Regions from separate parts of the Homo sapiens genome. Here region 1 is linked to region 2. The links are contacts of gene promoters, found by promoter capture Hi-C in blood cells and fetal thymus (Javierre and others, 2016). All regions are on one chromosome and are shown on one strand. The core of a region is centred on a gene start or on the middle of the fragment in contact, and the rest is flanking DNA. Distances in the headings are between cores, read along the strand shown.

Region 1 (6,699 bases), core at 3,693-6,192, 2.2 Mb after region 2:
CTAAAAAAGCATGGTGTAGTGAAAAGAGCATGAGTTTTGGTGACAGACAGAAGTGGGTTCAAATCCTAATTCAGCCATTTATCAACTTTGTGACCTTAGAAAGTATTCATTTCATCTCTCCAACTTGTTTAATTGTCTATAAAACAGAGAAAATACCTATCTTTCAGGGTTATTGTAAGGATTAGAAGTAATACATTTCAAAACTGCTGGCACACAGTAACACTCAATAAATTTACAAAGAAAAATGTCTACTATAAAAACTCTTTGACTCTTCAATAATTAAGAATGCCCATATATGCTAGGTACACAACAACACTTATTGCTGACAATATAACCACATGCTTTGTATTACGTCTGCAGGTGCAATGATAAAACAATAACATACCTGTTAGATAAGAGGTAAACTGTTTTGGACCACAACGAATAGCGTAACGTGTAGTTGTTCTCACAGCTTTTGGTTCAGTCTGCAATGCATCCCTGGGACAAAAGAGGGTTCCATCTGATGTTTCTCCCCACCATCTCACTCGGACAAGTACACAAGTGGGAGGCTTTGCAATCTTCCATATGACTCTATTAACAGTAAGTTTTAGAAAACAGCGTAGCTGGCCTTCAACCAGAGGTGGCAGGCTTGTAGATGGAGAAATGTCACTTAAACCTGTAGAGGAATCCAAGAAAACTGAGTCAAAATTTAGACTAAATATAGAAAACATATAATATGCTTTTTGAATGAAAACAAACAGAACACTTTAGTCTTAAGTTCAGCAATTTATCACCACTTAGAAAGAAGGTTTATCCTACCCATTATTCTAATACATGAGAAGTAACTATCAAATCAGACCACCGAATAATCTATCTGGTCATGTAAGCCACTCTGATAACTAATTAGTATTTAAGGTTTGATTTGATTTACTCTAAGTTAAGAACATACCAACAAAGACACACTAATATAAACTTTTCTTTAGTTGAGTTACTATTTGAAAAATACAAATATCAGAAGTAGTTGACATTTTTCTAAGTATGGTTGAAATTTTTCTAAGTACAGTTGTTTTAATTATTGCAACATCTATGGTTTTTAAGATATGTAATCTTTATCTAACTCTCTTTTAAAAAAATCACTAACGATAAAACAGCAACAACTCCCTTCACTCACAAACGATTTAGACTATATCATACAACTCAGCATTTCAATGAAGAACGTCTTAAATTGTAACTTTTCTTTCCTGCCAAGATCACACAGTCAGTGAGGACACAGACTATCTAATCTTCAGATTCTGCCACTATTTTTAACACAGTGCTGGGTTCATATATTTATTGGCTTTAGTATTTATTGGGTTTCATAAAGACATTAAAGTGTAAACAAAGCAATTAATCATGACTTTCTAAAAAATTTTCCTTTAATGACCCTGATTGTCTTTCATTCATAGTACCTTTTCGGGAAAACTTAAAGGAGATTTAAGAAACCATTCCTATATTATTTATACCTTTTTTTTCCTTTGACTTTTCTTTGAGGAGTGGTTATGCCTCAAAGAAGAAAATATATGGAATGTATCAGATCAGGACTAATTATTTGGACTTCTAATGCAAACACCGCCTCTGCCCTCTATAGTGGAGAAAAGACCCACCATAATCCTTATGGATAGTTTCAACATAAAAATTATACACAGTTGTGTATACATTTCTACATATGGAAATGGTATAGCAAAAAGTGTATTCTGTTCTATGCTATGTTATATTATTTCTACTTTGACTTTCCGATTATCAACCAAACATGCTTAACTGTTTTGACACAGGGAGCACTAGTATGCTTCAGTCTCAGATCCTCCTATCTTTCCTGGCAGGAAAGTCAGTATCTCAAAACTGCCTTAGTAATCTTTAAACAGCTTGGATAAGAGTAATTCCCAGATTGTAGCTTCAGTCCTCAACCCAATGGCCTAATGTCCTATCACTGTTCCCAATACTTCTTTTCTCGCTAAACTGCCTACAATGCAAAAAGGCAGGGTCACCCACTGTCCTTTTTCCCTTCGAGGCAGTCTTGTAGAGATTCAATGTCAAGTTTCCTGATCTGCCCTGGGTTCCTAGGTTGACTGTTCTCACTGCAGCTAACATCCCCTACTCGGTGAGCTTGTGTCTCCTTGAGCTGCTAACCTGATGAGGACTCTCTGCTGCACACTCTTTCATGATCTCAGGTCCTTCAGGAGATCGTCATGCCCTTACCCCCACTCCAATCCTATCACACCTGTCATTCCCCACTCTTCCCGGCTCTATACTCTACAATTATTTTTCCCAACTCCTGCTCATAGTCAGCCCTTCATACTTCATTCATTCAACTAACATTTACCGAGTCCTGCTTTGTACTAATCCTTGGTCATTCAGTAATGTATAAAACGTGATTCTTGCCCACAATCACACAACAAATGATATAATCCCTTTGCCAATTTATGTTTCTTCCTGTCCCTGTGGACCTCGAAAGCTACACACACACATACATTTCACTTCGTTATCAAAACCAATCCCATCATTGTTTGTTCTTCTCCTCTACAGTCATCCTACCGGTAACCTTCATCTCATTAATCGCCTGTCTGTGGCCCCTACCCCAGCCCCTAATTCCTTTCTATTCTCTGGAGGGCCAATTGCCCTTCCTTTTAACCTTCTGGTTCCCTGGCTACTTCCTTCTTACGTCCCTTTTCTTGTTTATCCAGCGGGGGTGCGGGTCTCCCTAAAATTCCTTACACCCTGCTCTCCTATTACGCTTTCCTCAATCTTTGATCGCTCAGGTTACCTCTTTTTTTGCGCCCACGGCTGCCCCCAGACCCTTGGCCTTTTCGTTGTTTCATGATGAGCCCGAGCTCTTCTTCACCAGCTCAACTCCGTCTCCAGCACCTAAGCAGTATCCTCCCGCCATCCCTCCCCACGGCGCCTGCGTTCCCCGGCAACCGGCGCCGCTGGGCAGCCTGGGAGGCAGGAAAAAGCGACTCTTCCTCTAACAGTCTCCGGAAAACGGTGCGAAGAGAAGGCGCCAAGACGCCTTCCCTCCAATACACTACAATACCCAGGACGCTTTGCTACAATACCTCTCCGGGGTTGGCTGGGGGGCGCCTCCAGCTGCGCAAGCGCATAGGGATGCGCCCTTTGTGGACTCCATTGCGCAGGGTGCATTGCCCTGAAGAGCGCTCCTCCTTCCGGTGAAAGTCGTCGGGTTCCCAGCCGGGAGTCTGCGGAGTTCTCATACTCTGTTACCCAGCTTCCTTTGTATGAGTGCTGTTGCGCACTTCCGGTGGAAGCGCTGAAGCGAGTGGGTGGAGTTTACGGAGCCGGTGGGCGGTAGGCGGTGCTACGGGTAGCTGGGTGCTGTCCAAAGGCGACAGGGCGTCGTTAGGGGAGCGAGTCGTGACCGGTTGGGCCACACTCAACGTGGGACGAAGCTTCGCCTACTGTTTGACTACGTGCGTGCAGCCTCCCCTCGATGTCGGCCCTCGAAAAGAGCATGCACCTCGGCCGCCTTCCCTCTCGCCCACCTCTACCCGGCAGCGGGGGCAGTCAGAGCGGAGCCAAGATGCGAATGGGGTACGTGACCCATACCCCTTCTCCCTATGGGCCAGGCCCCAGCCGTTGGAGAATGGTATCTCTGGGCGTTCATAGAGGCACGGGAAAGGAGTCTACTGATAGGAGAAAATGTTGGCGGCCTGGAGATATTTAGATGGAGTAGAAGGCAGATTGGGGTACTAGGGGAGGCGCCAAGTCAATAGAAATTGGAGGAAAAATAACGTTGTTGAAGGGAGAGGGGAATGAGGCAAAGGTTGGGGAAGCTGAGAGACTAACATAAGGGATCTGAGAATCACTTCCACAATAAAGGAGGCTTAGAAAAGGGAGTAGAACGGTGACAAAGGTGGAGGAGAATCGGCCAGGGAAGGTGGAGGGAAGTGGGGAATGACTGAGAGAAAAGTTGAGGGGAATTGGGCCAACAACTAAGGAAAGGTTTGGGAGGAGTAGATATTATCAGAGTTCTAATATCTGCACTGTGAGAACTAGATACTAGAAAAGCTGAGGGGGGTAGAAAACACTCGAGACAGGGCTGGAGAAGGAAAGAGGAGAACTAGGAAGCAGACGATTCTAGAGAATTCCCAGAGGTGTAAAGACAGATTCAGCGAATGAGAGGTGAGATTAGGTCTCTTAAGGGAGAATGAGAAAGTTTAGGGAGTAGGCCTAAGGTAAGGTGGAGAACATAGCCACGAAGATTGTTAAGGGTAGTAGGAATGTGCTGAGAAGCTGGACAGGATAAGGGAGAGAGAAGAAGGAGAGGACTGAAGAATTTACAGAGTGAGAAGCTGGACAGGATAAGGGAGAGAGAAGAAGGAGAGAACTGAAGAATTTACAGAGTGACCATAGGCTCTAAAGATTGAGAGATGACTATAAATACGGTTTGGTGAATGGAAGTGCTGCAGTTGTAAGGTCTGGGAAGCTTAGAGGAAGATTTGGGCAATCAGTTTTTGCTGGGCTAGTAGATCTGAGGGAAGCGACGTACTGGCCTAAGACTTTGAATTAGTGAAGCATTGGGAGTTCGAGAAATAGTTTGCTGGAAAGGAAGGAGAGCCATGTAGAAGAGATAGGTTTTGGAATTTTAGATCGTTAAATGGCTTGTGCCAGGTTAGGGGATACTTGGGCCGAGGAGAAAGAATGAGGTGAACATGGGAGAAGTAATTGCTGGAAAGTGGAGAGAATTGAATAGGCATTTGGTTTTGAGGGGATATTTGTAGTTTCAAACAGGATTCTGGGAATTAGTGACTGTAAAGAGAAAAGGAGTAGGAAAGATACTTAGGTATGAGGGCTCCAGAGTATATTTGGGATTCTAGAGATGAATTGGTAGATATTCTTTGAAAAAGGACTACAGAAGAGAAACCTTAGGTTCTGAAGAAGTAATATGTGTAAAAACTTATCAAAAAGGAGGCGAGAGTAGGAGATGCAGTACTGTGACAGTAAGTCCTAGGGATGAAAAGAAAGGAGAATCCTATAAAACAGTGGGGTAAAGGAATGGGAAAAATGGGTGGAAAAACCAGGGAAGGAAACTAAGAATTGAGTGGAGACCTGCTATGATACGCAGTAGAAAAATGAGAAAACTTTAGCAGGAGGAGATAGAGAGATAGACGCACAATAGAGGTAGAAGGCTACATAGAAGGTAAAGTGAAGATTGTTTTGGCTTTGGAAGACAGAAAAGTTGGACTATAACATGAATAAAGAGAATTTGGAAACTGACCCATAACATTATTTGGGAAAACTAACCTGGAGTTTAATATTAATGTAACATTAATTGTTGTTAAATATCTTAGTTGCTGCCTTTCTTAAAATAAATTTGATTTTTCAGTATACCAGCACCCTTCTATACAAATACATAAGAAAATCAGATTTTTAATAATTATACATTCCTTAGATAAGCTTAATTAGAGCTCAGCTTCTCATCTTGGAGAAACAAGTTCTCTGAAGATTGAAGAACTGAATGAAGATACTGAGAGAAAAAAAAAGGAAAATCTGCTGATTAGAAGATTGTATAATTGTTAGTAATTTATCGTTTTTATTTTTTATTACTTTTCATTTTATTTTTTTTTAGAGACAGAGTCTCACTCTGTTGCCCAGGCTAGAGTGCAGTGGCACAATCTCGGCTCACTGCAACTTCCACCTCCCGGGCTCAAGTGATTCTTGTGCCTCAGCCTCCCAAGTAGCTGGGATTACAGGCATGCACCACCACGCCCGGCTAATTTTTGTATTTTTAGTAGAGAGGGGATTTCGCCATGTTGGCCAGGCTGGTCTTAAACTCCTGGCCTTAAGTGATCTGCCCCACTTGGCTTCCCAAAGTACTGGGATTATAGGAGTGAGCTACTGTGCCTGGACAACTTACCTTTTTAAAAAGATGCTTTGGTCTTCTTGGTTTAGGTTAACTGCTTATCCTGGAAAAGAAAGTTCTTTAGAAAGGCCTTTCTTTATGATAGTATTGTGAAGAGAAGAGCATATATTGGCGAATATTTGTGTGGTCCTCAAATGGCTTATTTTCCCGTATCTTTCTTTTCTACTTTATTGGTATATAAGCAGGCTTCATCTAAGTCTCATGGTAGTAATAATATAGATTCTCTTTCTCCTTAGAATCATAAAGCTGAGAGAAAGCATAGACATGGTCTCATTTCACCACTTCATGTAGTTGAGGAACCCAATATTCAGAGAGTTCTGTATTCTATAAGGGAATGTATTAATAAATGAGGGAACTGAGACTCAGATATTCCTAAGGTACCCTAGAAGCTTAGCGGTAGGGCCGTTAAGGACTAGGACTTGGGTCTCTTGACTGTGAGACCCATTGTGTATTTTGGAGTCATAATTGTCATCTGGGGATACTTATTTTGAGTTGTGTATCTTACTCATTTGCATATAATCTAGGATTCAGTCTTTTTCTTCAGTCGTAATTTATGAAGTCTCACACCAATTTCAAAGCATTCTTTATGTCTCCTTATGCTTACTTGCTTTTTTCTTAACTTCCATTCTTCCACTCTATCTATGTTACTCACAAGTTAGTCCTGTTCTCTTGATAGTCTCTTGTGTGGCTTACTCTTAACTATTTTTCATGATCTCTTGCCTTCAATTTCACTAAACATTATTTAGGCATGTTTGCATATTCAGGGTGCATATTCTGAGTTGGTGATTTTTCATGAGTTTCCA
Region 2 (6,600 bases), core at 1,234-3,733:
AAAAAAAAAATTAGCCAAATGTGGTGGCGTGTGCCTGGAGTCCAAGCTACTCAGGAGGCTGAGGCAGGAGGATTGCTTGAGCTTGGGAGGCAGAGGTTGCAGTGAGCTGAGATTGCACCATCACACTCCAGCCTGGGAGACAGTGAAACCCTGTCTCAAAAATAAATAAATACATAAATAAATAAACACTCTTGGTTTGGCAATCCTGACAATCAAACTGCTTGTAGTTCTCACAAGATTAAGTTCTTTGAGAACTCCTTCCCTTACAAAAACTGTTGCTGCCATTTTTTGGTAATTACTCGTTTACCCTGTATGCCTTCTCACTAAGTAGCAAGCTCTTTGAGGATGTGGATTTTTGTCATGTTCATGATCTCCCACACTTCAGAGCAGCATCATGATTCTGTCAGAAACAATAAAGTAATAAATGATGTTCAGGAAATTGGTTGACAATGTGAAGAAAAATAAAAGTAGATCCCTACCTCACAACGTATCTAAAAAATTATACCTAGGCTGGGCGTGGTGGCTCACACCTGTAATCCCAGCATTTTGGGAGGTTGACGTGGGTGGATCACTTGAGGTCAGGAGTTTGAGACCAGCCTGGCCAACATGGTGAAACCCTGTCTCTACTCAAAATACAAAAATTAGCTGGGTGTGGTGGCACATGCCTGTAATCCCAGCTACTGAGGAGGCTGAGGCAGGAGAATCACTTGAACCCGGGAGGCAAAGGTTGCAGTGAGCCAAGATCACCCCTCTGTACTCCAGCCTGGGTGACAAAGTGAGATTCTGTCTCAAAAAATGAAATAAAATAAAATAAAATAAAATAAAATAAAATAAAAGACAAATAATTATACCTAAAAGGCTGGGTACAGTGGCTCACGCCTGTAATCTCAACACTTTGGGAGGCGGAGGCTCAGGAGGATTGCTTGAACCCAGGAGTTCAAGACCAGCAACATAGTGGGACCCCATCTCCACAAAATATTTTTAAAAATTAGCCAGGTGTGGTGGCACATGCCTATAGTCCCAGGTACTCACAAGGTTGAGGTGGGAGAATTGCTTGAGCCTGGGAGATGAGACTACAGTGAGCAGTTATCACGCCACTGCACTCCAGCCTGGGCGACAGAGCCGGACCCTGTATCACTCAGGCTGGGCACAGTGGTTCACACCTGTAATCCCAGCACTTTGGGAGGCCGAGGCGGGTGGATCACTTAAGGTCAGGAGTTCGAGACCATGGCCATGACCCCATCTCTGCTAAAAATATGAAATTTCCCCAGGCGTGGTGGCGCGTACGTAGTCCCAGCTATTTGGGAGGCTGAGACATGAGAATCGTTTGAACCCAGTAGGCGGAGGCTGCAGTGAGCCCAGATTGAACCAGTGCATTCCAGCCTTGGTAACACAGCGAGACACCGTTTCAAAGAAAAAAAAAAAGCACTCAGATTAAAAAACAAAATGAAACACAATACAATACTATATAGTCATGGCTACATATAATTATTAAAAATGGACTGGGAGAACACAAGCTAATTCTAATTCATAATAGTTGCTTCTGGAGAGGATGAGAGGGTAATAGGCTTGAGAGTAGAAAAAACAGGTAAGTTTAACTTTTATTGTATTATCTAGCTTTTAAAAAATAAGCAAATAAATCATAATGCCAGTAGTCAATTTAGGGTGATGGGTGTACAGTATTTACAATATTCTCCGTATTAAGTGTCACAAAATAAAAATGATTATTTTTAAGTAAATGGGATGCCTGTGGATGATGTAGATAATTCCCTGTAATTTTCTGTTGGTCCCAATGTAAAGCTGACTTTTCTAGACGTTCTGTGGGCTCACAGGCCATCCTAGTTCCATTCACCAGACAGATCCAGGCGGACGCCCAGAGGCGTGTGAGCTGGGGCTACAGGCTTGCAAGGTATCGAGTTCACCGGCTGCTGAAAAATCAGTTATGAAGGTATACGTAGGGGTGGGACAGTGAATGGTGTATAAAAAGGAGGGTAAGGCAGAAGCTGGGGCCGCAGGATGTGGGTTAGAAAAGTGTGCCGAGGTGTGTGAACTGGCATGACAGCCTAAGTAAGACGCGGAATGTGGGTGCCCTGGAGGTCCCGCAAGGCTCTTCAGCTCTCAGTTTCGGGAGCTCAAGCCGCACCGCTGCTTTCACAGCTCATCGGGAACAGGCTGCTCAGTTCATTTCCTTGATGGCCACCCTCCTCCCTCTCGGCCACTCCCCTCCCCATCAACAAATCCCAACGCCCCTCACCCGGGACCGTGGACCTCGAGGAGCCACCGTTGCCTCGGATCTCGGACCACCAAACCTATTCTCCCGCCAATTCGGCCTTCTGACCTTCGCCTTCTGACCCCGAGAGCTACTCTTCCGTCTTCCGTAGCACAGGAATGCGTTCTGGGGCTTCAAGAAGCTGCTGTTTTTGAAAATGAGTCCTACCGAGGCAAGATGGCAGGTGCTGCAGCCAGGAAAATACATTTCCGTGTGTTTTAATATTTATTTTCACTCACTACAACTCTTTCGTGGAGGGAGCGGAATTTAAACTTCCGGGTCAGCCTCAGTGCAGCTTGGGAAACGTAGTTCCTAGTCCCCACGTCTCGCTCCTTGGAGCCCAGACTGAGGGAGCGTCGCGAAAGTTGCCCGTTTTGGAACGCTCCCATTTGGCTCTCCAAAGGGAAGAATTGGTTAAATAGTTGCACTGAAAATAATGCGATTCAAATTTCTCATTTTCCAAGAACGCTCCCTTGCTGAAGCTTGCAAGGGCACGGTACTCCCCTCTCCTTGACCCTGAAACGTGCAGCAAGTAGATAACCTCCTGATCCCTGACAGTCTCCGCCTGTGTTGATGCCCCGCCCCCTCTGCTGGAGTCCGAGCCGCCGATTGGCTAGGAGCACTTGAGCAGCGGAAGCAGCTGGCTCGCGCGGGGACTGCGGTGAGGGGGCGAGCCGTGAAGATGGCGGCAGTGGTGGAGGTGGAGGTTGGAGGTGGTGCTGCTGGGGAACGGGAGCTGGATGAGGTAAGCGGAGTTGAGAGACGAGGAGAGACTCAACCTGAGACTGAGGGGAGGGGCAGTGAGGTATCGGGAGGTGGGGGTCTTAGGAGAGAAGGGAAAGATCCTGAGAGGGAAGGAGCTGACTAGGGGGCGGGTGCGTGGAGAGCGAAGTCAGAGGCACTCCTGACTTGGGGACTCCGAGGCGGCCTTGGGAGTAGAAGACTTGCATTAGCCTCAAGGGTGAAGATGGAGGACAGAGAGAGAGGTCGGAGGGGTGGGGGTGTTAAGATTTTGTGATTACTAGCTGGGTGTCTTAGGGTAGGACCGAAGGGCTAAGAGGTAGTTTGAGTTGGAGGGACGTGAATTTCTTCAGGGGAAGGCTGGGCTTCTACTGTGGGAGAGGACTCTGTCTAAGCCTAGGGTGGGGGTTGGGGACACAGACCGGGAAAGAGTGCTAATCCACTAGTAGTATAGCTTTGAGTTATCTTAAAGTTGGAACTGTTTTATTTATCGTTCCATTCTAAGACTTTGTATCTAATGCATGCTCAGTAAAGTTTTGGCCAACGAATGAAGGAACAAGTGGATGAATAAATGATTGTATGCCGGAATTCATGCATTTATTCACTTAATAAACATTATGACTTTTGCTCCGGGTTCTGGGCCAGGTGCTAGGGAGACAAGGGGCCCCTCCGTTGAAGAGCCCACAGTCTAGTGGTGGGAGACAGACAAGAAGACTAGTCATTGCATTAGAGATATAATGGTGGCACTGAGAAGTGTGCAACATTTCAGCTTGGGATAGGGAAGGCTTCCCGGAGTTGCTGAGTTTTAAACGATAAATAAGTGTCTCTCTCTTCTTCTGGATTTATGAGTTCCTTGAAGGTGAGCTCCTTGAGATTGTATGTTCCCTTTACCTATCTAATAGGCATTTAAAGACTGGTGTATTAAAATACCAGTGGTCCTTGAAGGAATCACTAGGAGGAAGGAGATGTTGAGTGTGAAAGGAATGAAGGGACAGGGCAGAGAAGCAGAGACAGAGGTGAAAAGATTCTGAAGCCATGGAGACATTGATAGCTAGTGGTGTTTGTGATCTTGCACATGCCAGCATATGGGCAAAGACATCACAGGAATAGGAGGAAGGGGATTGGTTGTCAGAGATAGAACCAGTGAGATCTCTGAGGGGTCAGAATCTTAGAGGCCCCTTGCTGTGTGTTGGGTGTGGGAAGAGTGGGGAGGATTGGGGATGATTGAAGATGAGGTTCAGAGAAAGGGAGAAGTGGACTTGGGAAGCAATAAGACTGTTGCCTGGTAGTGGGATGAGTTGGAGGAGTTGGATTACCTGATTGGGATCATTAAGGTGGGAGGAAGGGACTGAGAAATTGACAGGTGATCACAGCAGGGGGATTTTTAAAGAAGTGTTGTAGTCTTCTACCTCCCAATCACTAGAGACTACAGGTGTTTGGATACCAGTTGGTTGGTTAGGTGGAGTGGTTGTGGAAATGACCTCCAAGACCCCTTCTAGCTTTTACATTTCTGTGATTACAGTTGGCTGTGGTTCAGTGAGATATATTTGAAGACACTTTGGAAAGGGTAAATACTGTATTGAAGTTCTTATTTAAGGTTTGTTAGTCATGGGCTCTCCCTTGAGACAATTACGTATATCTCAAAGCTGTAGTTACATATGTCAGGGTTCATTGAGATAAACAGCAGAAGTTTTGGCAGAGGAGAAAATAACATTTTCTTTTTTTATTTGAGATGGAGTTTCGCTCTTATTGCCCAGGCTGGAGTGCAGTATTGCAATCTCAGCTCACCACAACCTCTGCCTTCTGGGTTCAAACAATTCTCCTGCCTCAGCCTCCTGAGTAGCTGGGATTACAGGCATGCACCACCACGCCCGGCTGATTTTTTGTATTTTTAGTAGAGACAGGGTTTTTCCATGTTGGTCAGGCTGGCCTCGAACTCCTGACCTCAGGTGAGCCGCCGATCTTGTCCTCCCAAATGTGCTGGGATTACAGGTGTGAGTCACCGCGCCCGGCTAAGAAAATAACATTTTCATTAAGACATGTTTGATTTTTGTTTCTTAGCTTTTCTTTATTGCTTGAAGGACTTGAGAGCGTCTAGTAGTATAATAGACTTTACAGAGTATCATGCATAGGAGTTAACTTTATATGAAACCACTAGCATTCATTCCAGGAACCTTGTTACTTGTTTCATTTCCTGAGAAAAGGTATAATCTGTTGTCTGGAAATTCCGTGTGGACTGGTTCTATCTTTTTTGTTGTTGTATGTTTGAGAAAGTAAGCTCTGAGAAGCAGAACAGTCATCCCTTCAAGCTCCAAAAATAACAGAGGTCTGGTCTGGCAGACCTTAGTTGGTATTCAGGTTTCTACTAATGTCTCCCCAGCTGTTTCTTTGCAGCCTTAGCTTGTGAAACAGCAGGTGAAATCCGTCTTTAATATGTAATTATGGGGTCTACTGTGTGTTATGCACTGATAATTCAAAGATGAGTAAGACAGGATCTTTACCAATTTACAGTCGAGTGAAGAGACATGCAAATAGCGTATTATAATACTAGATAATTGCTGTAATGGAGGCATGTAACAAATGCAGTGGGGCACAAGAGATCAAGCACTTGAGTCAGCTAGGGGGAGTCAGTAAAGTCTTTATGATAGAGATGGGTTTGAGCTGAAAAAGGTTGGGTTTACAAAAGAGCAGTGGTTTACATGTGGCATTAATATTGCCCCCTGTGTAGCACTTTCTGTTTTATTGATAGACTCTAATGTGGAGCCGAGATTATAATTGGGTAATGGGTAGCCTGGCTAAGATGGAGTTGGTGTACTTTTCTACTTCTTTGGAAAGAAGTTACACGCTGTGTATATTCAGGATATTATACCTATGTTTTCCAATATTAGATGCCATTAGCATGATACGTAGTCTGGAATGGCATTCATTCATATTCCTTTTCTCTTTTTTTGTCTGGTTTCATTAATACTTTCTCTAGAAGTTGAGACGTAATTTAGGCTTTCCTAATGGCTTCTTTCTTTAGAGGGATAAATAGAAAAGAGGGTTTAGGAAAAGAGCTACCAGTAGAAAAGGCTACTATTTATTCAGCTCTTAACCATACACCAGCCTCTGTTTAAAACCCTTTACCTGCATCATCTCATTTATTATTAACAGTAGGCATGTGAATTAGATGGAGTTAACCCCATTTTATAAATGAAACTGAGGCTAGAGAGGCTAAAGAACTTTCCTAGGATTCCACAGTTTGTGAATGGGGAAGTACAGCTTCTGATCCAGGCCTGCCTGTGCTATATGGAGCTTAGCCCATGCTATACTGAGCACCTGGGTTCCATTTCTTACTCCACTATTTGTGCTCTAGGGGGTGGGAACTTTAAAATTGTATCGTCTTAATCATCTCATGTAAAAATTGATACCGTATATTTGATAAGTGGCTGTGATTCAAAAGAGCATTTTGAATCTCACATTTGTGAGGAAGGTTTTATTAGTATTCCCTATTTGTGATTGAGGAAGCTGAGGTTCAGAGGATTTGAGATAGGCCAAGAGTCTTGAGGCTACCAAGTGGTGTCACAAAGATTTAAACCCATGTTTCCAGA

Evidence for each region. Contacts are between HindIII fragments. The CHiCAGO score rates a contact against its expected background, and 5 or more counts as called.
Region 1: a contact is called between a fragment that was not itself captured here and the fragment with the promoter of XNDC1N in region 2, in 1 of 17 cell types (monocytes). The highest score is 5.1, in monocytes.

What each region holds. Positions count from the first base shown.
Region 1 is chr11:74,167,959-74,174,657 of GRCh38, forward strand. PPME1 (protein phosphatase methylesterase 1) reads left to right here and starts at 3,331. Exons shown (of 14, transcript NM_016147.3): 1 at 3,331-3,564. The coding sequence starts at 3,464. It overlaps C2CD3 (C2 domain containing 3 centriole elongation regulator), which reads right to left and starts at 3,044. Exons shown (of 33, transcript NM_001286577.2): 1 at 2,780-3,044; 2 at 386-655. The coding sequence starts at 2,834. RefSeq lists enhancers at 2,279-3,202, 2,976-3,425, 3,203-4,125. The HindIII fragment of the contact is 971 bases long and covers 4,458-5,428 here.
Region 2 is chr11:71,926,111-71,932,710 of GRCh38, forward strand. It overlaps XNDC1N (XRCC1 N-terminal domain containing 1, N-terminal like), which reads right to left and starts at 2,484. Exons shown (of 6, transcript NM_001375847.2): 1 at 2,255-2,484. It overlaps RNF121 (ring finger protein 121), which reads left to right and starts at 2,936. Exons shown (of 9, transcript NM_018320.5): 1 at 2,936-3,014. The coding sequence starts at 2,952. XNDC1N-ZNF705EP-ALG1L9P (XNDC1N-ZNF705EP-ALG1L9P readthrough) reads right to left here and starts at 2,484. Exons shown (of 11, transcript NR_172895.1): 1 at 2,255-2,484. RefSeq lists an enhancer at 2,317-2,626. The HindIII fragment of the contact is 13,024 bases long and covers 1-2,749 here.